Linked DNA regions of Homo sapiens: regions 1, 2, 3, 5, 6 and 7 are each linked to region 4. The links are contacts of gene promoters, found by promoter capture Hi-C in blood cells and fetal thymus (Javierre and others, 2016). All regions are on one chromosome and are shown on one strand. The core of a region is centred on a gene start or on the middle of the fragment in contact, and the rest is flanking DNA. Distances in the headings are between cores, read along the strand shown. Region 1 overlaps NAPB (NSF attachment protein beta). Region 2 overlaps NAPB (NSF attachment protein beta). Region 3 holds the start of LINC01431 (long intergenic non-protein coding RNA 1431). Region 4 holds the start of ACSS1 (acyl-CoA synthetase short chain family member 1). Region 5 has its middle 33 kb from the start of GGTLC1. Region 6 has its middle 15 kb from the start of GGTLC1. Region 7 has its middle 31 kb from the start of CST5.

What was found. The method cuts DNA at HindIII sites, captures the fragments that hold promoters and counts their contacts. A CHiCAGO score of 5 or more calls a contact.
Region 1: a fragment that was not itself captured here is called in contact with the fragment with the promoter of ACSS1 in region 4 in 1 of 17 cell types (total B cells); the score reaches 6.7 in total B cells.
Region 2: a contact is called between a fragment that was not itself captured here and the fragment with the promoter of ACSS1 in region 4, in 1 of 17 cell types (total B cells). The highest score is 7.4, in total B cells.
Region 3: a contact is called between the fragment with the promoter of LINC01431 here and the fragment with the promoter of ACSS1 in region 4, in 14 of 17 cell types (total B cells, naive B cells, total CD4 T cells and 11 more). The highest score is 45.2, in total B cells.
Region 5: a contact is called between a fragment that was not itself captured here and the fragment with the promoter of ACSS1 in region 4, in 2 of 17 cell types (naive CD4 T cells and non-activated CD4 T cells). The highest score is 5.3, in naive CD4 T cells.
Region 6: a contact is called between a fragment that was not itself captured here and the fragment with the promoter of ACSS1 in region 4, in 1 of 17 cell types (naive CD4 T cells). The highest score is 6.2, in naive CD4 T cells.
Region 7: a fragment that was not itself captured here is called in contact with the fragment with the promoter of ACSS1 in region 4 in 6 of 17 cell types (naive CD8 T cells, total CD8 T cells, non-activated CD4 T cells and 3 more); the score reaches 7.8 in naive CD8 T cells.

The regions. Positions count from the first base shown.
Region 1 is chr20:23,376,383-23,379,892 of GRCh38, forward strand. It overlaps NAPB (NSF attachment protein beta), which reads right to left. Exons shown (of 11, transcript NM_022080.3): 9 at 3,485-3,510; 10 at 3,063-3,113; 11 at 1-1,104. The coding sequence ends at 994. Among named protein-coding and RNA genes, the nearest start is that of GZF1, 16 kb to the left of the region's middle. The HindIII fragment of the contact is 3,001 bases long and covers 74-3,074 here.
Region 2 is chr20:23,414,744-23,418,151 of GRCh38, forward strand. The region is part of intron 1 of NAPB (NSF attachment protein beta); the gene reads right to left. Among named protein-coding and RNA genes, the nearest start is that of NAPB, 5.0 kb to the right of the region's middle. The HindIII fragment of the contact is 3,803 bases long and covers 1-3,408 here.
Region 3 is chr20:23,356,186-23,359,667 of GRCh38, forward strand. It overlaps LINC01431 (long intergenic non-protein coding RNA 1431), which reads right to left and starts at 1,942. Exons shown (of 3, transcript NR_109884.1): 1 at 1,770-1,942; 2 at 866-952; 3 at 409-784. RefSeq lists enhancers at 1,368-1,457, 1,648-2,037 and a silencer at 2,088-2,277. The HindIII fragment of the contact is 4,137 bases long and covers 926-3,482 here.
Region 4 is chr20:25,056,187-25,059,419 of GRCh38, forward strand. ACSS1 (acyl-CoA synthetase short chain family member 1) reads right to left here and starts at 1,953. Exons shown (of 14, transcript NM_032501.4): 1 at 1,583-1,953. The coding sequence starts at 1,916. RefSeq lists enhancers at 1,049-1,178, 1,829-2,434 and silencers at 1,279-1,548, 1,679-2,208. The HindIII fragment of the contact is 7,356 bases long and covers 1-3,233 here.
Region 5 is chr20:24,019,787-24,022,907 of GRCh38, forward strand. No RefSeq gene overlaps it. Among named protein-coding and RNA genes, the nearest start is that of GGTLC1, 33 kb to the left of the region's middle. The HindIII fragment of the contact is 2,153 bases long and covers 683-2,835 here.
Region 6 is chr20:24,001,791-24,005,172 of GRCh38, forward strand. No RefSeq gene overlaps it. Among named protein-coding and RNA genes, the nearest start is that of GGTLC1, 15 kb to the left of the region's middle. The HindIII fragment of the contact is 2,637 bases long and covers 356-2,992 here.
Region 7 is chr20:23,909,124-23,912,674 of GRCh38, forward strand. No RefSeq gene overlaps it. Among named protein-coding and RNA genes, the nearest start is that of CST5, 31 kb to the left of the region's middle. The HindIII fragment of the contact is 2,299 bases long and covers 415-2,713 here.

The sequences.
Region 1 (3,510 bases), core at 324-2,823, 1.7 Mb before region 4:
ATTCCTGTACCACATTCACCCCACCTAACCCATCATGTACAATAAACAGGAAAATTACATACATTCATTCTCAAGCTTGACTTAGATAATCTATCCAGCCCTGACCAAGATTTCTATAGTCACAGCACAGAACACACCACCTCAACGTGGGAAAGTGTATAAACATGAAAATAATGAGCAGGCTATGCCAATTAAAATACTTCAATGTAAATATAAAGGGATTTCCACTCCAACTAAAAGTGAAAACTATCTCCAGAAAAAGAGAAAAATTCCATTTCTAACAGATCTTGTGATATGTGTGTGTGTGTAAACGCGTGTGTCTAAGTACAAATCAAATTCACTTTGACACTCATCCATACATGAAGCAAGTACTTCCAGAAAGCTCCCTTCCTCACAATGTGATGCCTACAGACCCTGGCTATTCTAAATTTTTGCCATGCACATGTTAGCATACGGAACAACACAAAAAGCAAAGAAACTAGTCACTAGCACCATCAAAATAATCACAGGATAACAAAAATAGAAATGATTTCTAATGAAGTTATAAACTCATTCCTAGTAACTGTCCTAAACTAAACACACATTTAAAGAACATATTCAGATGCCAAAGCACAGAGAAAATGCAAAGCATCTATGAGAACAACTGGGCTGAGTACTCAAGTCCAACAAAAAGGACATAAAAACACGTGGCAACATTAAACATAGGCTCCACAAATACCAATGAAATATGAGGAATGAGATTCTGAAGTACTTCTCAGAAAACGCTGGGGGTTCTGATAAGCATGAAACAACCCATCATTACCACAAGATGAACAGGAGCCTCTCCTTCATTCATTTCACAGCAACACAGACTTGGCGAGCTTAAACAATACACAGGCCGTCTGGCTCATATGCAACAAAATTAAGCCATTAAATAGGCATCCCATAAAGATCACTTGACCCTAAGACAAAACTAAAGAGGAGTTAGCTGCATGCCACAAAGACAAAAACATTTCATTTTAGGTCTCCATCTCCTTCTCCATCCCCTTGGATGGACTTTTTGATGCGAAGCAACATGGTGGTCAGCCACTGATCCAAGCGAGATATTGAGTCAAATTCCTTCACCTAGTATAAGGAAAGAGGAACAGGAATTACCCCATGTAAATACATTAAAAACACAAAATAATAGTACCCCAAGCTGTTTATACCTTTACAGCCATAATCTACTAACTTTCTTCATCATTTGAAATTAATCATTCCAGTTTATAACTTTCTTCATTAAAAAATTGTTTATTTTTTCATTATCCTGTTACTATTTTGATACTAGTGACAAGTTCCTGGGCTTGACATTTCTCTGTTTTCAAACGTGTAAGAAAAAAATTCATTAACAGTCATAATTATTGTGGCAAAAGTAACTGGATATTGTATAAAAATTTGAAAGGAATATGGAAAATTAATACTCACTGAACATGGGAAAACATTAATTACAGAGTTAGAATATGTATGGAAGCGGAATTAACACATTTCAATGCATTACCCAAAAATAAAATTACAATAGGATGAAAATGATGTGGTAGGCAAAAGTCAGACAGGAAAACATTCCTTTCCTCTATCACTCCTGAGCTGTGATGAACATGTTACAGGAGGCTACTGAGAAATTTGCTTGAGGCTGGATGTAGTGGCTCATGCCTGTAATCCTTGAAGTCTGGGAGGCCAAGGCAGGTGGATAGCTTAAGCCCAGGAGTTAAGAGACCAGCCTGGGCAACATGGTGAAACCTTGTCTCAACAAAAAATGCAAAAAAAAAAAAAAAAATTAGCTGGGGGTGGTGGTGTGCACCTGTAGTCCCAGGTACTTAGGAGTCTCAGGTGGGAGGATCACCTGAACCCAGGAGGTTGAGGGTGCAGTGAGCCGTGATCACACCACAGCACTCCAGCCTGAGTGACAGAGTGAGGATCTGTTTCAAAATATATAAAAACATTTTTTTTTGCTTGATTCTAAACATGAGATGGCAAAAGATGGAAAAACAAAAAGTATAAAGAAAAAAACCCTCATATTTTTAATATATATATATATTTATTATTTATTTATTTATTTTTGAGATGGAGTTTCACTCTTGTTGCCCAGGCTGGAATGCAATGGCGTGATCTTGGCTCACTGCAACCTCCACCTCCTGGGTTCAAGAGATTCTCCTGCCTCAGCCTCCCGAGTAGCTGGTATTACAGGCACACTCCACCATGCCTGGCTAATTTTTGTATTTTTAGTAAAGATGGTGTTTTGCCATGTTGGCCAAGCTGGTCTCAAACTCCTGATCTCAGGTGATCCACCCGCCTTGGCCTCCCAAAGTGCTAGGATTATAGGTGTGAGCCACCGTGCCTGGCCACCTTCCATTTATTTCATGCCACAAATACAGCAAATTCTCACTACTTAGTTTTTATATTTTAAATTATATTTAATTTTTTTTTTCTTTTTTTTTTTGAGACAGAGTCTCGCTCTGTCACCAGGCTGGAGTGCAGTGGTGCAATCTCAGCTCACTGCAACCTCTGCCTCCCGGGTTCAAGCGATTCTCCTGCCTCAGCCTCCCGAGTAGCTGGGACTACAGGCGTGTGCCAGCATGCCTGGCTAATTTTTATATTTTTAGTAGAGACGGGGTTTCACCATGTTGGCGAGGATGGTCTCAATTTCCTGACTCATGATCTGCCTGCCTCGGCCTCCGAAAGTGCCAGGATTACAGGTGTGAGACGCCGTGCCTGGCCTTAACTAATTTTACTTTATACTTATTTATGGGTCAGATTATTTTCAAAAGAAAAAATTAAAACAGCAAATTATAAGAATATAAATGGAATATTTGCTCCTGAACTAGTCTCACAGCTAAATTAGTTTTGAGTGTAAGTCGAATCTCAGCATGGCTAATGGAACTGTTTAATTTGTGTGATATATAAAAGGTGACGTTTGGAAAATACAACTTAAGGTATGCTGGAGTCATGTTCAAATAAATGTTTAGAATTCACATAATGAAAAGGAAAAGAAGTTTCTTTAACTTAAATCTTCAAATAATGTACCATGTCCCAAAAGCATAACTTACTGCTTCAGTGTAAGCTTCACTGTTCTGTTCTTCATGAGCTTCTAGGAGTTTCTGGTAGCATAAAAATATTTTAAAAAACAGTTCTGTAAGATGAAGTCCCATTTCTAAATATATACTTTAAGTATAATACCAATGTTGCCAAATATTGCACAAAACTGAGGAAATACTCATATACAAGTCAAGAGCCAAGTTAGGGATCTAGCTTCTGTAGTAACATTTCTCAGGTGCCTATTTCAGAACACAACTACATGTTTCTGACCTTAATTGCATTTGAACACCTATAATACGAAAGCAGGAAAGTACCAGGGCCCCTCAGTTAGCAGACTTTATAGATTAAAACTTCACTTCATACCCAATCCCACTTAGGTGTTGTCACCTAACAGAACAAAAGCATTTTTCTTCAAAGTTCTAATATTACTTACTTTCAATAATTTACATTCTCTTGAAT
Region 2 (3,408 bases), core at 643-3,142, 1.6 Mb before region 4:
GATTTTATAACCAATCAGATAAACACAATGTGAAAATCTAAGAAGAGTATATGAAGTCTGTAACTAGGGTGATTCTGTGTCCTCATTGCATAGATATGCTTGACTTGTACCCATTTTATTAGTATCTCAAAAATATCACAATTTGGACAATATATTCTCTTTGACTCCATAACTCACAAAAATAGAAAAATATATTAAAAAAATTTTAAGTATAATATTTTGATTAGCTTAATTATTCAGCATTAATTCATACATGAATTAAGATTTAAATATGCTGTTTATATATAAAAGGTAATAGAGATTGAGACATAACTAAGTAAAATGAGGAGGTAAAGGGGAAAATGTAAGACCATGTAAGTTATAATAAATTTTTCATCATTTTTAGCAAAATCAACAGATACTGTCTGAAAATCAAGATATCAGGAAGTAGAAGTGCTCTAAAATTATTTAGAAATATGGTGGTAACCATCAGAAAAACTAATGAGAAAGTTAAAAATGGTTGCTTCTTGGGAGTGAGATTACGTAAAAAGAAGACTCAGAGAACTTTACTTTTCAACTGAAAACTCTCTGCGCTGGGCACGGTGGCTCATGCCTGTAATTCCAGCACTTTGGGAGGCCGAGGTGGACGGATCATGAGGTCAGAAGTTCAAGACCAGCCTGGCCAACATGGTGAAACCCTGTCTCTACTAAAAATACAAAAATTAGCTGGGTGTGGTGGCACCCATCTGTAATCCAAGCTACTCAGGAGACTGAGGCAGCAGAATCACTTGAACCCAGGAGGCAGAGGTTGCAGTGAGCCAAGATCATGCCACTGCACTCCAGCCTGGGCAACAGAGCAAGACTCCATTTCAAAAAAAAAGAAAACTCTCTGTACTCCTTGTACTTTTCTACCGTGTACAGCTACAATGTTCATAATAAGCAAATATTTAAATAAAATGCCTAGTACAGTGGCTAACACCTGTAATCGCAGCACTTTGGGAGGCTGAGGTCAGCAGAGCAGATCGCTTGAGTCCCGGAGTTGGAGACAAGCCTGGGCAACATAGCAAGACCCTGTCTCTACAAAAAATACAAAATTAGTCAGGCATGGTAGTGCATGCCTGTAGTCCTAGCTACTTGGGAGGCTGAGGTGGGAGGATCTCTTGAGCTCAGGAGGTCAAGGTTGAAGTGAGCAGATATCTCGCCACTGCCTTCCAGCCTAGGCAACAGAGTGAGAGCTCGTCTCAAAAAAATAAATACATAAATAAAACGGAAGAAAGCGACTTAAACTCTCCTTTACTTGGTATAGCTTTGCTCTTGAAAACTAGGTAAGAATAAAAGAAAAAACATCAGCATTTGTATTAGCATTAATACATTCATTCTCTCCACCAATATTTACCACGTGCCTAACGCATGCCTCAGGCTGGGTGAGGTGTTAGCCACAGCAACAAAACAGGCAGACTTCCAAGGAGCCACATATGATTACTGGCCCTCCCTCTCTCCAGAGTAACTGCACCTCACAGAGCTCACAAGAATGAAAGAATATGTGGAGAAAACTGCAAAAATGCAACAAGAAAAAGGCCAGTCTGGTAACAGTTTATCATTTGATACCAAGCTGTAACAACCTAAAATCAGAAAACCAAACAATTATAATAAAGTTATATAGCTCTGTGCAACTGAATAAGCATTCTGACCTCATTCAATCCTTAACAATCGTGAAAAACAGATTCTGTCTCTCTGCCCATCTGAAAACTAAAAAAAACAAGTTCTGAGTATGATTTACTTGACTATAGTCACCAAAATAGTAAATGAGAGAACTTGAGCCTCTACCTGGTCTCCCCATGAATAATAATATAATTATATTTCTTACGTATATTATATAATTTATAAAAATAATTGTTCAATTTATAATCGATTTCTTTTGAGAAAGATACACAAATATACGTATATATTTCTTATACTGTATCACCTGTCTCTGTCAGTAAACCTGAGCCTAATAATTTTTTTAAAAGTTCAATCTGCATTTGAACAAGAATTGTAACTGAGGAAAACCTAAATGCTTCACCTATGTTATCACATGGCCCCACCATATTTTGGCCAAACTTAAAAGCAATCTTTGTTGAAATAAACACAAGTGAAGAATACTGATAATTTACAGTCTACAATGCTTAAGAAATATTCACAATTTTCACAAACAACCAACAAATTATAGATTCATAATTATTTCAAGATAACCCAATGGGGCCTTTCATTAAATTTACATTGACATTGCCAAATTTGTAGCTCTTGTGTAAACTCAGACTAAACACTGAAAGGCAAAGGAAGACAGCATTAACCATAAAGAACATCTTTCCACTGGCATTCTTTTTTTTTTTTTTTTTTGAGACGGAGTCTCGCTCGGGGGCCCAGGCTGGAGTGCAGTGGCACAATCTCAGCTCACTACAACCTCCACCTCCAAGGTTCAAGTGATTCTCCTGCCTCAGCCTACCAAGTAGCTGGTATTACAGGCGCCCGCCACCACGCCAGGCTAATTTTTGTATTTTTAGTAGAGACGGGGTTTCATCATGTTGGCTAGGCTGGTCTCAAACTCCTGACCTCAAGTGATCCACCCGCCTCGGCCTCCCAGAGTGCTGGGATTACAGGCGTGAGCCACTGCACCTGGCCTCCACTGTCAGTCTTAAGCACTTTCTTCTATGTGCATTGTGCAGGTTATTCCCAACCGGGTCTCATAGCAACAAGATGGAGGGGATAGTATTATAAGAGGCTTTTCCAATTCAAAACTATCTTAATGTCAGACTCAGGCCGATTTAAAATCATACCAGTAGTTCATTAACATTATAAACTGGAATTTGAAATTAACTACAAAATTCCATAGCTCATCCCTGGCAACAAACTAAAGGACAAGACAACTCCTTTGGAAGTAGTTTTACTAAACGTACTATACTACAAACTTGAGAAAAAGTTTTAATTCCACAACTACAAAAGCACATTACTGCTTAACGGGCAATTAAGCAGAAACACAAACCACCACAACAGTGGTTTCCTGCAATGTTTGCATCCCTTGTCAGCTCTTTTCCTGGGGAGGAAGGTGGGGATGGGAAAGGAATATTGATACCTTACCTATCAAGCAGATAAGGCAGAGGATTTGTGCCTTACACAGAGAAGAAATATTTGACTGACATGTTCTCATAAATACATATGCATATTTTCATCTAATTTTACTGAAAGCAAGAAACAAAAGCTATAGAATACTACTAAGAATACAGTATTGCCACAAAACCACTGTGAGTGGTAAACACTAGAGAACTCATGACAGGCTTTAATCTGCAGATAGAGCATTCAGAATGTCTGTGATGTGAAATATCTGCAATATGCCAAGCAGCTTTTAATGACTGCCACAACCTGAAAACAGATGGCTTATCCTCTTTAAAG
Region 3 (3,482 bases), core at 692-3,191, 1.7 Mb before region 4:
AAGGATTTGAATGGGGCAGACTGTATTCACTACAGGGCCCAGAAGACGCGGGGACGGCCCCAACTACTGCCCTTCAGGTCCGGGCCAGACCCGCAATGGGCAGGATGGGTAGGGTACAGGGCGTGCGTCCCCACCTACACTAGCCTGGTTGCAGGCGGCCTCCAAGGGCACAGCGGGAAGCTCCGCCCTTGCCATGCCCCCGCCACCGGGGAAGGCAAGACAAATGTGCGTGGCACCCTCCTCCTTCGGTTCTGGGACACATCTCCACCAAGCGGCCGTTCGGCAGGTAGGGCCAGATGGTCCCGGCTCGTCCCTGCGGGTGGGGTTTCCCACCGGCGGAAAGCGCAAGCCCCTCCCGTTCTGTCCAGCGCGCTGCCCGCTGCCTTAATTATAAGGCAGATGAAGGTGAAAAGTTTACTGGTTTTTATTTTTGCAACTTTTTGTAAATTTTAAATTATTCTAAAAAGTTTAAGAAATGAATTGTGCTGAGGAGTATAATCAGCACGCAGTGCGAGTTCTTATAGTGGCCACGTCCACAAACCCTGTGTTGTGGAAGAACAGAAGGCGTTCTGCTTTCTGTGTTTCACCGTCTCTCCCTCGCTTTAACTTCCAGGTCCCGGAGTAGTGGTGACAGCAAGGTCTGTTGGTTTCTTTGGTTTAGGTTTGATGAAAGGCCACTCCAGTGGGGTAGGAGGTGGGCAGGGAGAACAGGGGCTAGGGTGGGAGGGGCAGGAGTTGGGTCCTGGGGGTGGAGGAGATGACGGGGAGAGTGGCTTGGAGAAATCTGCAAGAAGAGACATTGGAAGGCCGGGGGAGGTGAAATGGACACTGGGTGAAGCTGAGGAGTCCTAGTGAACCATGTTACCTCTGATCCAGATATTCCCAGAACAACAAGAAATCAAGCTTCTGAATGTGGTCTGTTGCAAGCTTGGAAGGTGCACACCTGTTGCTGCTAATTTGGACAATTTGGGGGAAGAGCAGAGATTTAGATGTTGCTTTGGTCGACCTTAAACACCAGCCCTGTCTCCCCTACCACTTTGCCAAATTAGGGCCCCGTCTCTCTAAAGAGCAAACAGAAAACTGCAGAAAGTTGCTTTGTCCTGTAGACAAGAGGCTGGGACTAGGTAAGAGGAGGGAGCCAGGATGCAAAACTTAAGACCAGCCTGGCCAACAAGGCGAAACCCCGTTTCTACTAAAAATAGAAAAATTAGCTGGGCGTGGTGGCAGGCGCCTGTAATCCCAGCTACTCAGGAAGCTGAGGCAGGACAATCGCTTGAACCCAGGAGGCGGAGGTTGTAGTCAGCCAAGATCGCGCCACTGCATTCCAGTCTGGGCGACAGAGCGAGACTCCGTAACAAAAAACAAACAAACAAACAAAAAATCTTAAACATCACCAACGAGCCTTGTGAGAAATGGTTTAACGTTGTGATACCTTGCCCAATTTTAAGGCAGGTAAAGGTGTGTGTTAAAACTCAACTCTTGAACTGAACCCCAGCTGCCCTTTAGGGCATGCTTAATTTGATGTGGACTGTAACCTCTTTTGCAGCATTGTAGAGATTTGGAATCTGCACATTAGGAAGAGACCCCACGAGGCGGTGGCGTTCTTTCTCGTTCGGAGCTCACACCCCTCCTGGGGAGCCCTCTCCCAACCCGGGCTCCCGGTAAGCGCGGTCGCCGCTCCTCTGAGGGCTGCTCTTCCCTCGCTTCTGAGCCGAGGCCCCCGCGACACGAACGCCACGCCCGAAGCGCTCTTGCCAGGACGTACTGACCGAGGGTAGGCTGCCCAGCCGGGTGGTAACGTTGAGGAAAGGACAGCAGCTTCGCAAAGGAGCTGGGTAAAACCACGCCCAGACCCCGCTGGCCACCAGCCCGAGACCAAGACGCAGGCGGTGGCGCCGGTTTCTCACTCAACCGCAGGTTCCAGCATCCCCGATACGGCCGACGTCATTACCCTGCGACCGCTCAGGACACTTCTGAGGACTCTTTTGACAGCTAGTAATCGCGCGGTGGCGCGACCACGTGACTCCGGCGCCCTAGCCCCGCCCTCCGTCTCCAAGGAGCCCTGGAAGGAGCTATACCAGCGGCTCCAGAAGGCGGGGAGAGGCGGGGCCGGACTCCGGGACAGCCAATGGGCGAGGAGTGCCGCCCAGCCTGACCCACCGGCCGCTCCCTCACGAGCCTGTGGGCGTGCGCCGGCTGTGCAGGTGAGGGGCAGCGAGGGCGCCTAGTGGGCAGGGCGCCGGCGTTGCGCGTGCGTCAGTGTTCTTCCTTGTGCAGTTTAGAATTTGATACATTTCTTTCCAGTCTATTTCTATAGATTTGTTTTCAAATCACATCAGACCCTATGTAAAATAGTGTACCGTCTTTACTCATTATAACATGGTGAGCATTTCCCCAAGCTATTACACATATTTTTAAACATTGTTTTAATGACCGGCATAATAATCCAGTGCTTGGATATATCAAATTCTTCGGCCATCTCCTTATAGGTGAGATTGTTTCCAAAGTTTCACTAATGTAAGTGCACTGCAGTGAACGCCCTTACGTAACAATTGTTCACTCCCGTGTACTTTTCTCGTGCAGAGTTCTACAGCATGAAACACTATATTTAACTTTGTCAGGTTGATGTTTATCAGTGGTTTATTATTGTTTTTATAGTATTCCATTGTCAGTGAAGTATGCCATTCACACTGTCAAGTGAATTGTCTATTTGTATTATTTAAAAAAAAGATCACAAACATAGAAAGGAGAGCTTTATTTCTTTAAACGGTGATAACCTGCAAGGTGGCCCTTCTGACAGGCTGGGAAGCATAGCTTCTGGCAGAAGCTCAAAAGGCAGGCAGCTGGAGGGAAGGGGGCCTAAGACAGGAATTTAAGCTGAAGGACTTAGCCAAGTACACATATGAACAGGCCACAGGAAGAGCTATGAATATTCATGAAACGGGTCCTGACCCATGCTTACTGGACAAACGTGCATGTTACAGGTGACCTATGTTTACTTTGGGGTGGACTCTTAGCATTTACAGGTATTCATGTATTACATTTAGACCCTATAAGTTGAAAGATCTTTTCAGGACACCGATGCACTTGTGTGCAGCCTCTGTAAACCGCCAGAATCAGCCCCTGTTCGGTTGTTTCCCATCAGGAAAAAGTTACTGCAGTCAGTCTCTGGTCCAATCAAAGCAGTAATTATTTGTGGAAGTGGTGGGGCTGGGGCAGGGGGCGTGTCAGTCAGCATGTGGAGGTGGATGAAAAGCACATTGTTTGAATATTGCTTATCTAGAGGCCAGTGCTTGTTTGGCTGCCAGAGAATAAAAACCTTGTGGCAGTTAAGGCATAGTTTCTTCTTGAAGTGTAGAGGTGCATGACAACCCTTGCCAGGCATGGCCCTTCATTCTTTATCATTTAGTATTGCCACAAAGAGTCTGTGAGTCTTATGACCTCTATTTTTAAAGCTATTAAGACACTCAACTAAAGCAATC
Region 4 (3,233 bases), core at 703-3,202:
GGGGCTGCAAGTGTGCACAGGCCAACTGTGAATGTTCCCCATGACCTTGGCCTCACAAGTCCAGAGCAGGTCACTTTCCACCTCTGTCCTTGGGCAAGCTGCTCTAGTCTCCTTCAAGGGCACATTGCCCCAACTCTGCAAACCAAAGGGTTTGGTTTTTTTCCCACTAGTTCAAGGGCACTTGCTGCTGACTCAATGTTAAAGAAAACACTTATCTAGTAAGTGACTCATTTTAATTAAACCAGCAAAGTAATATACAATTTCGGGGAGTGGGGGAGGTCCAAAGTTCCTTCCAATTTCTTTGAAAAATAACTGCAAGACACTATCTATAATTGTATGACTATTTCTGAAGTTATCTAAAATCGCTACTGCTTATGGGTCACCAGTAAGCGCTGGGTCTGCTGCACACCTTGCAGCACTCAGCCTAACCTCTGAGCATGACTGCCCCCATCCTCACAATGAGGAGACTGAGGGCTGGGGGGGCAGAACAACAAGGACAACTGAGGGAGGAGTTGGAGAAAATGGGGCCCTGGTGACCCTGCCATAAAGACCCGCAGGTCCTTTCTTAAACACTCCCAAATCCAGCAAGCTGGTTATGACCACCCTTCTGGTCTGCATCCCTCTGATCAACACCGTGTCTGCCAGCCCCTCCCCGCAGGCCCCACACCCAGGCCCACCCTGCATCCGGAGCCCACCTCGCACTTGGCACCCACCCTGCGTGGCCAGCCCTGCCTGCAGTTCAGGGCCTCCCCCTCGGTGCCCAGTCAGCGCCTTAGGTGGGGGCGAGGGTGCTGTGTACGACCCCCAGCCCCAAATCTTAGCAGAGCAGCAGGGCCTCTGCTCAGCAAGTTCCAAACAACTGACCACCAGTCAACTGTTTGGGGCCGACGTCAGACCCCGCGGGTCCAAAGCAGGCCCCAGGTCGCTGGGGTGCAGTTCTCTGAGGCCGAGAACGAGAACGGGGAGGCCGCCGTTACTTCCTTCCCGTCCACAGGCCCCAGGCCCCAGGCCCGCAGCGAAGAAATAACTGGTTCCAGCTGCCACGCCGAGTTTCCTCCTCCCCAGGTCGCCCGCCACAGCTCTGTTTGTTTACGTGGGCAGGGCTTGTCCCCAGGCTGATCCCCGGGCACCGCAGCCCGCAGTGACAACCGCCACCGCTTTGTTTTTCCCTCCACCCCGGTATGGGAACGGGAAAGTCCCGACTCCGGGGCGCTCGGGTGTAGCCCGCGGCTCCCCGCCGGCTCTTGCTCAGCGGCGCTATGCACCCGGTAACGCAACTCTGGAGTCCGCCGAGCGAGGAGCCGCGCCGAGCAAGGCCAGCAGCGGGGCGTCCCAAGCGGCCGCCGGGTCCCCGCGGGCGCCGGCCCGAGCTGGGCACGTGGATCTGGGGCCCGATGGGATGAGGGACGGGGTGACGTGGAGCCACTGCTTAGAGCGGGCGGGGCGGACGGAATACCGGAGGAGGGGCCCCTGCAGGGCTGCGATCCGCGCTGCCCGGGGACGGCTGCCGCTGGCGAGAGGCTCCGAGTCCCCTCGGGACCCAAGAGTTGGGGGCGTCCTGGGTCTCCCGAAGCCCACTCACCAGAGACATTTAACTGGCCTCCCAGGAACCAGCCGATCTTGCCAGTGCTGAAGTCGCAGTCCCAGACGGTGTGGTAGGGGGTGTCCCACACGAGAGTGTCCCGCGCCAGAGGCCCCCAGAAGGCGGCCGGCTCCCGGGCTGCCTGTGCACTCAGCGCGGGATACGAGCCTGGCTGTGCTGCTGCTGCTGCAACTGCGGGAGCGCTGCCCGAGGGTCCCGAGGCCGCCCTGCGCGGCGCGCTCACCCCGCACGGCGGCCGCGCGGGCTGCCCCGAGAGCCCTCGCAGGCTGCCCAGCAGCCTCCCGACGCCGCGGCCCAGGGTGCGCGCCGCCATCTAGGCAGGCTACCTGAGCTCTCTGTGCTCCCAGAGTGGGTGCCTCACGCCCGGGGCGCCCCGTGGAGTCTCCGCGGGCCCCGCCCCTGCTCCGCCCTTCCGCCACCATCCATTCCTCCAGGGCCCCCTCCCGGAGCCCGCCCGGGTCCCACCCCTTCTTCTGCTGCCCGGGAGAGGGGGGGCCGCTTAGGAAGAGGGGAGCAGCGTGGGGAAGGGGTGCAGGGGAGCGCGGGGCGGAGCAGGGTCCCAGGCCCTGGCCCAGGCGCTGCGCTCCGGTGAGTCTGCGGTCCCACCCGGATGTTCCTCGAGTCGGCCTGTTTTGGTTTCAGTTTGCACGCTCTCCTGCAAGCCCCGACAGCTTCTTCGAGCTGCCAGAGGCACGTGCGGCCCAGGACCCCAGGACGCAGGCTCAGGGCCTGGGGCGAGGGGACCCTCTGGGATGGGGAGGAGCCGGGAGGGAGCCGGCACCAACGTTAAGGGGGCTGGTGCACCCAAGCGCACTGGTGGGTCCCAAGACAATAGGTCGGTCAGTTCCGCATCTCAGAGGCTGAAGCCAAGGTTTTCATGCCTTTGTGCGCCCCTGAGAGTGAACCCCACCCCTGGAGTCTCAGCAGCACGCGAAAGGGGCTGGCGCCTTTCTAGGCTCCCGCCTAGAAGCCAGGAGGCTGCGCAAGCCTGAGTCCGTGTTCTGGGTCCCATGCTCCAGCCCCCCAGCTGCCGGCCTCCGTCCTGGCGGGGGTCACGTCCTGCTGGGGGTCGGTGGTGGGTGATATGGGGCGATGAGGACTTTCTCCAGTTGCTGCAGCATCTGTAGCCTGAGTTCAAACTCTGTGACCTTGAGCAAGTTCCTTAACTTCTCGGTGCCTCGTTTTCCTTTTGGGGAAGACGGAAGTAATGTCTCCCTGGGGGGCGGGGACGGCGGGGGTGGGCAGCTGCAGTAAGGAATACATTGGACAATGTCTGTCAAGCGTCTACCCTTGCGTGGCCCCATAGTAAGCTCAGTAGTGGGGATGATGTTTTTGCAGCTGTGGAGCCAGGAAGGACAGAAGGAAACGTATAAAACTGGTCTCCACCGAGTTCTTAAATATTCTGACACCCAAGAAGTAAATTCATAACAAACGGGTAAACACAGGGAAGAGAGATTTTGGAAAACTGGTTTATTGAGTTCTCTGTGATGGGAAAGTTTCTTTCCCTTGAGCTGTAGGGCTTGCAGAGGGGAGGAGCCTGCCATTGGAGGAGCCTCTGCGTGGGCTAGCCACCAGCCCCTGCTGGGGAATGCTGCTGTCTGCCAGAGAAGACAGGAGTGTACCTAGAGCT
Region 5 (3,121 bases), core at 509-3,008, 1.0 Mb before region 4:
TATAGTTCTGTCCCTCTAGAGAACCATAACTATTACAGACTTTGGTACCAGGAGTGGTTCTAGAGAAACAGAATATTAAGAATGGAGTTTTTTCATTGGTTTTGGGTTTCTGGAGTTGGCTGCTTAATATAATTAGATCCAAAAATGATAAGGACTCTACTTCTAATAGTATGGAGAACACTGATAGTCCTTGGTGTGAACTGTTTAGAGAGTTACGCAAAATAAATGCATCTGACACTCCTAATTCACCACTCACAAGAGGCAAGGAGTTTGGTGACTCTATACATAATACCTTTGACTATATGTGGAGAACCAAGGAACATAATGAAGCTGGTTGGTTGCTCCTAAGTTTGGTGGAAAAAGTGACAAAAGAAAATGATGAACTCCGGGATTCTAACTCCCAGCTTCAGAAGCAGATACTGAGGCTCAAATCTGGTAAGACTGCCCTGAGTGAGGGTCTTATCTCCTGTAGAGAAATAACTAAAATTGTGGAAAAACAGACATAAGCTCTTACAATGCGAGTGGCTGACCTGCAACGAAAGGTGCATGCAGAGCTTCCCCAGGTGTCTGCTGTTAAAGTGAGGGCATTGATAGGAAGAGAATGGGACCGTGCAACTTGGAATGGGGATGTGTGGGAGGACCCTGATGACACTGGGGACACTGAGTTTGTAAACTCTGATGAAGCTTTTTTTGCCAGAAGAAACAGCTTCCCTATCCCCAGTAGTGGCAACATCCCCTCCCCGACCCATGCTGCCATCAGCCTTTCCACCTTTGTCTGAGGAGTTAAACCCTGTGCTGCCTGAGGCAACAGTGATGATGGCCTCAAGGCAGTTGCCAGGCAAGATAATGTTGATTCTCCTGAGGAGCCACCCCCAACACCCCTGTTTTCTTCGAGACCTATAACTAGACTAAAGTCCCAGCGGGCCCCTAGACATAAGGTTGAGAGTGTGACCCATGAGGAGTTGCAGTACACTCGAAAAGAACTGCTTGAGCTTTCTAATTTATATAAGCAGAAATCTGGAGAACAGGCATGGAAATAGATATTAAGGGTGTAGGATAATGGTGGAAGGAACATAGAGTTGGATCAAGCTGAATTTATTGCTTTGGGCCCACGAAGTAGGGACTCTGCATTTAATATTGCAGCTTGGGGAGTTAAAAAGGGTTCTAATAGTTTATTTGTTTGGTTAGCTGAAATATGGATGAAAAGATGGCCTACTATGAGCGAGCTGGAAATGCCTGATCTCCCTTGGTTTAATGTAAAGGAAGGGATTCAAAGGCATTGGGAGATTGGGATGGTGGAGTGGATTAGTCACTTTAGATCTACTTATTCCAACTGGGAGCATCCAGAAGATATACCTTTGACCAATGCCTTGCAAAATAGATTTGTGAGGGCAGCACCTGCATCTCTGAAGAGCCCTGTAATTGCTCTTCTCAGATCTCACAGTGGGAAACTACAACAGCCCAATCCAGGTAGGACTACAAATTGCCCAGACTCTTTAGGAATGAAGGTTTGGCTTACTCCACAAGGAAAAAAAAAACACACACACACAACCTGCTGAGGCACTTGCTAAAGGCAAAGGGAATACAGAATGGGTAGAAGAATGTAGTCATCAATACCAGCTATGACCACAAGACCAGAAGCGTGACCAGACCTTTTTATATATATAAAGGGGAGTTTATATGTGTGTGTGTGTGTATATGTGTGTGTGTATATGTGTGTATGTATATGTGTATATATATATGTGTGTGTGTGTGTGTGTATATATACATAAAAATATATATAGATATATATCCTATTAGTTCTGTCCCTCTAGAAAACGCTAATACAGTTGGGGAAGAAAACCTGACACCAAGTGCAGGGCCAGTGTTGGGCAGGGGGAGCCTTGGACTGTGGTGCTGACTGAGGAAGGCTCCGCCAACCCAGAGATTGCCCATTAGAGGCGTCCAATGCTGGGTGCACTGAGTTGGGCTGCAGCACCAGCCAAGTGCAGGCCGTGGCAGGGATGGCCTGCAAAGAGTTTGTCTGAGTAGGAAAGCAGGGGCAGATCCTGGTGGCAGCCAGTGAAGGCTGCAGAAACCCGCCTTCCTTGCAGCTGGGCAAGTTCTCCCTTGAGGGGAAGAGAGGTATTCCACAGTGCTCCCCACCACTGCTCCCTCCAAATCGCCACTCAAACCAATTCCTGCTCTGGATCCTTTCCTCAAGGTCTGCTTCTGGGGGAATGAGCCTAAACCAAACTTTCAGTTAATATTTATTATGCTTCATGTGCCCCACTGTGCAAGGTGCATATCCCTAAAAACCGTGGGTTCTTAATGAATGTGTTTCCTGCTCCCAATAAGTTCATTCCAGTTTTTCTCCTGTGCAGTTTTATGCTGCACATAAAAATACATGAAGGGAGATTGCAGGATCCCTACTAGAGAAGCAGGGCCACTTGCAAATTGCAAGCAACTGAACTAACATGATGTAGAGGAAAGCTGATATCTGTCACTTGCATGAATGTGTACTCTGAACAAGGAAGGCAAAGGACATGGGGCAGGCATGGAGGAGAACAACCTTGAGGTGGGTCATCACAGCCACAGTGCCCCAAGTGCTCTGAGTTCCAGCTTGCAAGGCTGTCCTGGGAGGTGCCTGTTTCTACTTCATTTTCCCTTTATGACACCCCAAATAAATGGCACAGCCAGATGCACAAGAAACAAAAGACTTTTGAAGATTTACAGGATTTAAGATAAGGATCCTTGTATCAGGAAGCAATTGTATGAAAAAAATAGTTAAGAGCAAGGTTTCCAATTTATATGAACACTCAGATTTGTCCCACAGGTTATTAAAGCTGAACAACAAGCTTTTCATTCTGCTTGGAGGCCAAAAGCCGAAAAGCTATTAACTTGCATACATCTTGTGTGCTTCAAAATTGAAATTAGCTTCTTTAATTGCATCAGCATAAAACAAATATCTGTTCCTCAGAGGACCTGGTTTTAAAGGCAGCTTGAAATTAAGTGACCCCAAGGCCCACACAGATGTCATGACAGCAGCTATGAAAAGAGGTGATTTACTGTGTAATTGGGAGTGGTGCAGAAAAGTTGAAATAATGAGAGAATTGTTTTTCTTTGTGTTTTCTTCCTTATT
Region 6 (3,382 bases), core at 424-2,923, 1.1 Mb before region 4:
GAACTTAAGGCTTATATATTGCTGTGTAGCAAAGCACACCCACTTAGTGACTTCAAGCAATGGCCATTTGATTTGCTTATGATTCTGCAGTCTGGGCTGGGTCAGCTGGGCAGTTCTCCTGATCTCACACTGGTCAAGCTGACAGGTCATCTGGGCTGGGCTCAGCTGGGATGCTGCAACAGCCTCTGTCTTTCTCTCCACTAGTTGCACAGTCTTGCTCTCTCCAAGGGGTCTGTCCATCATGGTACCTGAGCCTTGGGGTTTCCCAAAGCAGAAAAGCGGAAGCTGCTGGCTCTTTTTTAAGCTTAAGCCTAGAACGGGTACAGCATCACTTCCTCCGTATTTAATTGGGTAAAGCTTTTACAAGATCATCCCAGACTTGAGCAGGGCGAACCACCTGAGGGTATGAACACCTGAGGGCATGGTTCTTGGGGAGTCATGCATGTAATTGAAAGACACAGCTATTCTGGGGGCTGTGAAGGTTATTTATACCCCAGTGTGGCTTGACCAGCCGAAGTCTATGAGTCTCTCCAGGAAAGAGCTGCAGTGTGCAGGTGCAGTTCGAGCTTTCTGGTCTTGATGACCCTGGAGAAAGAGAAAATTGATGTTGGGTTGGATTGTGTGCAGCTTCTCTGGTTGGGTGAAGACTGTGTTTGGCATTTTGAAGCAGAAAAACGTCCTTTCCATGTTCCAAAATGAAGGTGATGATTTGCCAGCCCACTCCCTGCACATCCTCAGGGAGCAGGAGTCATACATCTTCCCTTGCTGTTGAAGTCATCCTGCCCCAGACGCCCTAAAAGCCTGATGGGTCTGGATGAGGAGAGGACACACCAGGAGGAGCAGGCAAAGAAAAGTTTCAGCTCCTCCGGAGCCCTTGAGTACGTGCAGAGCAAGGAAGTCCAAAGCAAGTAATGTAACACTCAGCTCCCCCTGAACTGGTGAGAGAGCTACATGAGAACTTAACAAAAACCACAAATGACAAGCCCTAGGAGACGTAGCTAGAACACAAAATACTCTCAGGATCTATAGACAGAAGAATGGATTTTTCAATTAAATGAAAATGTTTAACAGATGAAGTGAGAGATGGTCACAGCGGATAACTGATATACAGATGTGGGGGACCAGGTAGACATTCTGCAATCCTGTGAACACACGCACACACATGCACACTCACACACATGCACACACGCACACTCACACACACATGCACACACACATGCACACTGACACACATCCACGCACACACACATTCACACACATGCACACACGCACACACACATGTACACACATGCACACACACATGCATACACATGCACACAAGCACACTCACACATACATACACATGCACACGTACACACACCCACACACGCATGTGCAAACACATATGCACACACGCACACACACATACACGCACACGTATGCACACAGACGCACACCCACGCACACTCACACGTGCACACACACGCACACACATGCACACACACAGAGACACAAAAGCCACAAGGCAATATAAAGAGACCTGAAGAACAAATCCAGGATACCCAATATGTGAATAACAGACCTTCAAAATGGTAAACAAAAAAGAACCAGTAGAAGAAAAGTCACACTCGAAAATTAAGTGTATGTGATGAGAGGCCAGAATGATTATCCCGGTGGGTCTCACAGTGGAAGCAAGTGTGAGAAAAACAGTCTGTAACTTCGCTTTGGACATACTCATATTACAAAAGTGTGGCCCCTAAGAGGATATGCTACTGTCCCGTGGGATGCCAAGCCTTTTGCTCTGTCAGGGTGCAGATTTCAGGTGACATATATTAGCTTAATGCACTGAAAGAAACCAAAATATTCTCCCCTACCTACTGAGGATTATGGAGCTTAAGAAGATTCAGATGCAGGGAGACTCCGCCCTGCCTCTGCTTGCCAGGTAGCAGGACAGCAATTTACAAAACCAAGGTATTCTTCCTTCCTCTCTGTCATTCCCACCTAAAGACAGGCCCCTTTCCAACACTTGCTTATAAGCTCAGAGACAGCCACGCCAGAGAATCTAGGAGCTGGCTTTACTCTTCCCACAATTACTTTCCCATGTATCTCACTTTTTTTAAGCCTGAAGATGCTCTTTTCTTTGTCTTGTCACTAAATAGGATTTATGGCTCTTTGTTAAAATAATTTTTTTTTAAGTGGAGTCTCTGTTGCCAAGGCTGGAGTGTAGTGGCACAATCCCGGCTCACTGCAACCTCTGCCTCCCAGGTTCAAGCGGTTCTCCTGCCTCAGCCTCCTGAGTAGCTGGGATTACAGATGCCTGCCACCACGCCTGGCTAATTTTTCTGTTTTTAGTAGAGACAGGGTTTCACTATGTTGGCTAGGCTGGTCTTGAACTCCTGACCTCAAGTGATCTGTCCGCCTCGGCCTCCCAAAATGCTGGGATTACAGGCGTGAGCCACTGCACCCGGCCAATACTTTTTAAGTATTGGCCCCTAAGCCACTGCCTTGAGAGAGAAATAATTTTGAACTGAAGCCTTTCCCAGGTGATGGGTACAGCAAGTGTTAATAAACTCCTGCTGGGTTTTCTCTTGTTAATCTGACTTTTGTTTTCAAGCAAGTCTAAACTAAGAATCTATAAGGGAAAGAAAAGAAATTACATTTCCTCACCTATAGCACTGAAGGAACCCAGGGAACTTCACCCAAAAATATGGCTCCCTAGTATAGTGAGTATTTTGAATTGAAAATCCTTAGAGATCAACAGAGGCCAAGAGAGTTTTCCCTTATCTGCATAAAGACCGACCCCCAAGGAGAACAGTTGCTTTCCTTCTCCTCCCTGTTATCTCCTTATCCACTGCAGAAAAGAATCCCGAGGAATACCGCCTCGCCTGAGCAGGCCCTTTGGCCCTCTAAGTATGCCATCCGTCCCCTTGACAACCAGGCCCCCTCCTGAGGCGGTCCGGGGTCAATCACCACATTCGCATAGAAACAGACACTTGTCACTTTGGAGACTCCAAGCTTTTTAGGAGCTGTGTGCCAGGGAGCAGGACAAAAACCAAATATATATTTCTTATCATAAATCACAATGTCATACTACCGTCTATTCATCCCTCCCCTCGGGACAGATAAGCTTGTCAGTTATCCTTTGGGTGGCTTACAGAAACATCTAACCCCACAGGGATGTTCTAAGAGGCTGACACATAAGAAAGGTAGAGGACATCCATCAGCTGTGCCTACTTAGGGCTCAAGCAGACCTGGTTATATTGCAGTCATTTCTGTCAACAAGAGCCTCCTGTGGCCCTGATGCTACGTAGCCTTAAAAATACTCTCCCCTGGAAGTAGACCCCTTTACCAGCCCCAGCAGACCAAAGCAAAATGAAGTCACTCATGCTAAAGTTCCATGTCA
Region 7 (3,551 bases), core at 314-2,813, 1.1 Mb before region 4:
GCCTCTTGCTCTGTTGTGTAGCTCCCTGTGTTTTCTCACAGTTGCAGCTGTGTTCCCTCTCAGTGCTCTGAAAGTGTGAGTTTCTCTCGCCCTTGAGTGCTGGCTATAGTTCATGACTTGGCACCCCAGGCTGCCCACTGCAGCTCTGTGGTGATCCCAGTGTTATGTTTTTTCCCCAGTTTAGAGGCAGCAGTGGAAGGGATCTTCGTAGTGGTTGTGGCCAAGAGTCATTTTGCTTGACTCCTGGGGGCTCCATCCCAGAGAGATGCAGGTCACCAATTGCTCCATGCAATCAGTCTAAGATGAAGGGTTGTGCTGTGGGCCCAAGCCAAGGTTCCCTGTCCAATGACGAACTATGAGGAGTGTGTGGGATCCCTGGAAGACAGACTGACCTCCTCTCCTTGGGTCTACTGAAGCTTGTTGGAGGTTAAGGCACTTAGGGTATTTGCTTATTCATTAGTGCAAAGGTGGCAAGGGCAGCGGCAGAGAGACTTTCAGTTGCCCCTGGAGGCTCTGTACATGGAATTGCTGAGTTGCTGCTGGCTTAATAGCTCTGGTGGGGCATGGCTGGAGGCCCAGGCCTGGAGGACCTGCCTGGTGAGGAGATATGGGAATGGACACCCACATAACAATCTGGCCACTTTTCTGTAGGGCTGCTGTGGTATGCTTGGGCCCACTCCAGTCCCTAGTCACCTGGATTTTCCAGAACCTGGAGATGTCACCAGCGAAGGCTACAAAACAGCAAAGATGGCAGCATTTCCCTCCCTCTGGGAGTTTTGTCTCAGGGAAGTATGGACCTATTGCCAGCCCAAAGGCACCTGTAGAAAGTGGCTGGAGACCCCAGTTGGGAGGTCCTACCCAGTAAGAAGAAATGGGATTGGGACCCACTTAAAAAAGCAGTCTGACCATGTTTTGGCAGAATAGCTGTGCTATTCTGGGGTCCACTTCAGCCCCTGGGCCACCTGAGACACTTCAAAGCCCAAAGGCTGGAATGGCTAAGTCACCCAAACAGCAAAGATGGCAGCACACTCCTCCCTCTGGGAGCACCATCCCAGGGGGAATTCGGATCTGTATTGGCTGGAGATCTCAGGTGGAACCGGGTGGAGGCTCTAGTTGGGAAGTCCTGCCCAGTGAAGAGAAACAGGATCAGGCACCTGCTTAAAGCAGCAGACTGGCCACATTTTAATAGAGCAGCTGGGCTGTGCTGAGGGATCCCTTCTTTCCAGGTCGGCTCAGACTTTCCAAAGTCTGAAGGCTGGAACAGCTAAGGTGGCCAAATAGCAAAGCTGGCAGCCTGCCCCTTCTCCCGGGAGCTCCTTCTTAGGGAGGTGCAATGCTGCTACTAGTAGCTGGTTGGACTTTCAAGACAGTGGGTCTTGTCTTGTGAGGTGCCATGGAAGTGGGGACCATGGGCTTTTGCTGCTCAGCCCCCTGGATTCAAACCATTTTTACGGTTACACAGAGTAGTCTATCCCACTTTGCTGGAGCTGCAGCTATTTTTGCTGGAAAGCCCAAGTATCTAAGACTCCAGGGTCTCCACACATGCCTGAGTGGCTGCTCTGCTGAAACTCCACACAGCTTTCTCTGGCAGACTGAAGACTGAAGGTCCTGGTGGAGTGGGTTTACAAGGAGATCACCTGACATGAGGGTTGCTAAGACATATGGAGGAAGCATGGTTTCCTGATGTCAATCATGCACTCACCCCTTCCCTGGGTGGGTGGGGATCCCCTGGTTCTGTATTGCTTCCAGGTGGGCTGTTCTCTTGTCTTGCTTTTTTTAGTTTTCTGTGGGTCAAGTTGTTTCCTTGATTAATCCCAGTGAGTACTTGGATGTTTCAGTTGAAGATGTTATATTTATTCACCCCTTCTGTTTCTGCCCATGAGAGCCATGCACACTAGCTGCTTCTAGTTGGCCATCTTGCCACTCCCAAAAAGTTTTTATTATTTAATGTGTTGCACCAACCTAATATGTTATAATATTAACTTAGAACAGGAGAAAAAATAGGGGCCAGGCACAGTGGCTCATGCCTGTAATCCCAGCACTTTAGGAGGCCGAGGTGGGCAGATCACAAGATCAGGAGATCGAGACCATCCTGGCTAACATGGTGAAACCCCATCTCTACTAAAAATACAAAAAAAATTAGCCAGGAATTTCCTATTTCAAATAAATGGCTTCTATGGGGATACAAAGGCCTGATTTTTTTGCCCCGATATGTTACCACTCTGAGGCCATCCCCATTACAGAGCTCTCCATGGGCCTGGCTGTGGCCTCTGCTGAGCTGCACCCCTGCCTGACTTCTCCCTCTGCCCCGACCCACATCCCTGCCTCCCAGCACATGCCTCAGTGAGCCTCTTGCCTATGAATCTCCATCTGAGTCTGTTTCCAGGAACCCTAACCAAGAGCTTGTGGAGTCAAGACCCACAGCACAGAATATCCTGCCTTTTTAACTACAGTGGGTGTTAGGTCTGTGAACGTTTTGAGGATGAGACAATTCCTGTCTGGAAGACTGGATATCTCCCCTTCTCAGGATTTGAGAGGTAGGATGTTCCAAATGTTCTCAGACCTGAGACCTGCTCAAAAAAAAAAAAAAAAAAAAAAATTGGATTTCCAATTTTCTTTCCAGCCTCACTGGAAATTCACCTTTTTTCAAAAATCTCTTATTCAACTGGAACATTTTTAATCCTTCCTCCAATCTTAGTGAAATGAAAACTAAAGCTTCTATCTGTATTGAACTTTGTGAAATATTTTTACTCACCTAATTTCTTGTGAAATAATTTCACTCTCCTAATTTTCTTTATACATCTGATGAGGAAGGCTGAGCAGGTAACATAACTCCTTGCATTTTTGAAGAAATAAGTAGGAGGGAGGTTGAGGACAAGGTGCCAAGTCATACAATTTTCAGTTAAATTTTGTTCCTGTCGCACAATAAGCCTTATTTGAAACGCGGGCTCTGGGATGGACACTTAGTGGTGTGTGAGCTCCGTTGTTCCTGGGAGCGTCCTGGCTGCAGATAGCAGGAGTCCTGAGAAACACTGGCTGCCTCTCCCATGATGACGGCAGTCATTTACCAAAGGTCGTGGGATGGTGTTCACAGAGTTGCTGCAGTGTCCTCAGCAGGGGCCCAGGTGGTTTCCTTCCATCTTCTCCATTGTTCCTTTGGCTCTTGTTCTTGAGCACATGGCTCATAAGTGAAAGGTGGACTCCATAGCCCAAGGCATCCTGTCCCAAACTACACCCTGAAAGGTGAGGAGTAGAAGCAGGAGGAGGTCACAGGGGGTGAGAGGAGGGTGGGGAGAGAGTGAGAGTGAGAGAGATACACACAGTGGGAGACAGGCTGTCCCCAGGGTCTCTCTGTTTATTCAGTATAGACTCTCTTAGCAGTGACCTGGTTGAAGTCTTAAATGTTTTTGTCTGGATCTGGGTCCTGTGCCTCCAGGGCTGAGGAAGGCTAAGAAATTCATGGGCTGATACTTTCAGTCTTTGCACTTGAGAGCAGGCAGGAGGAAGGGAATTGAGAATGGCTGGTCAGGTTTCCAGAACAAGGTTTCTTA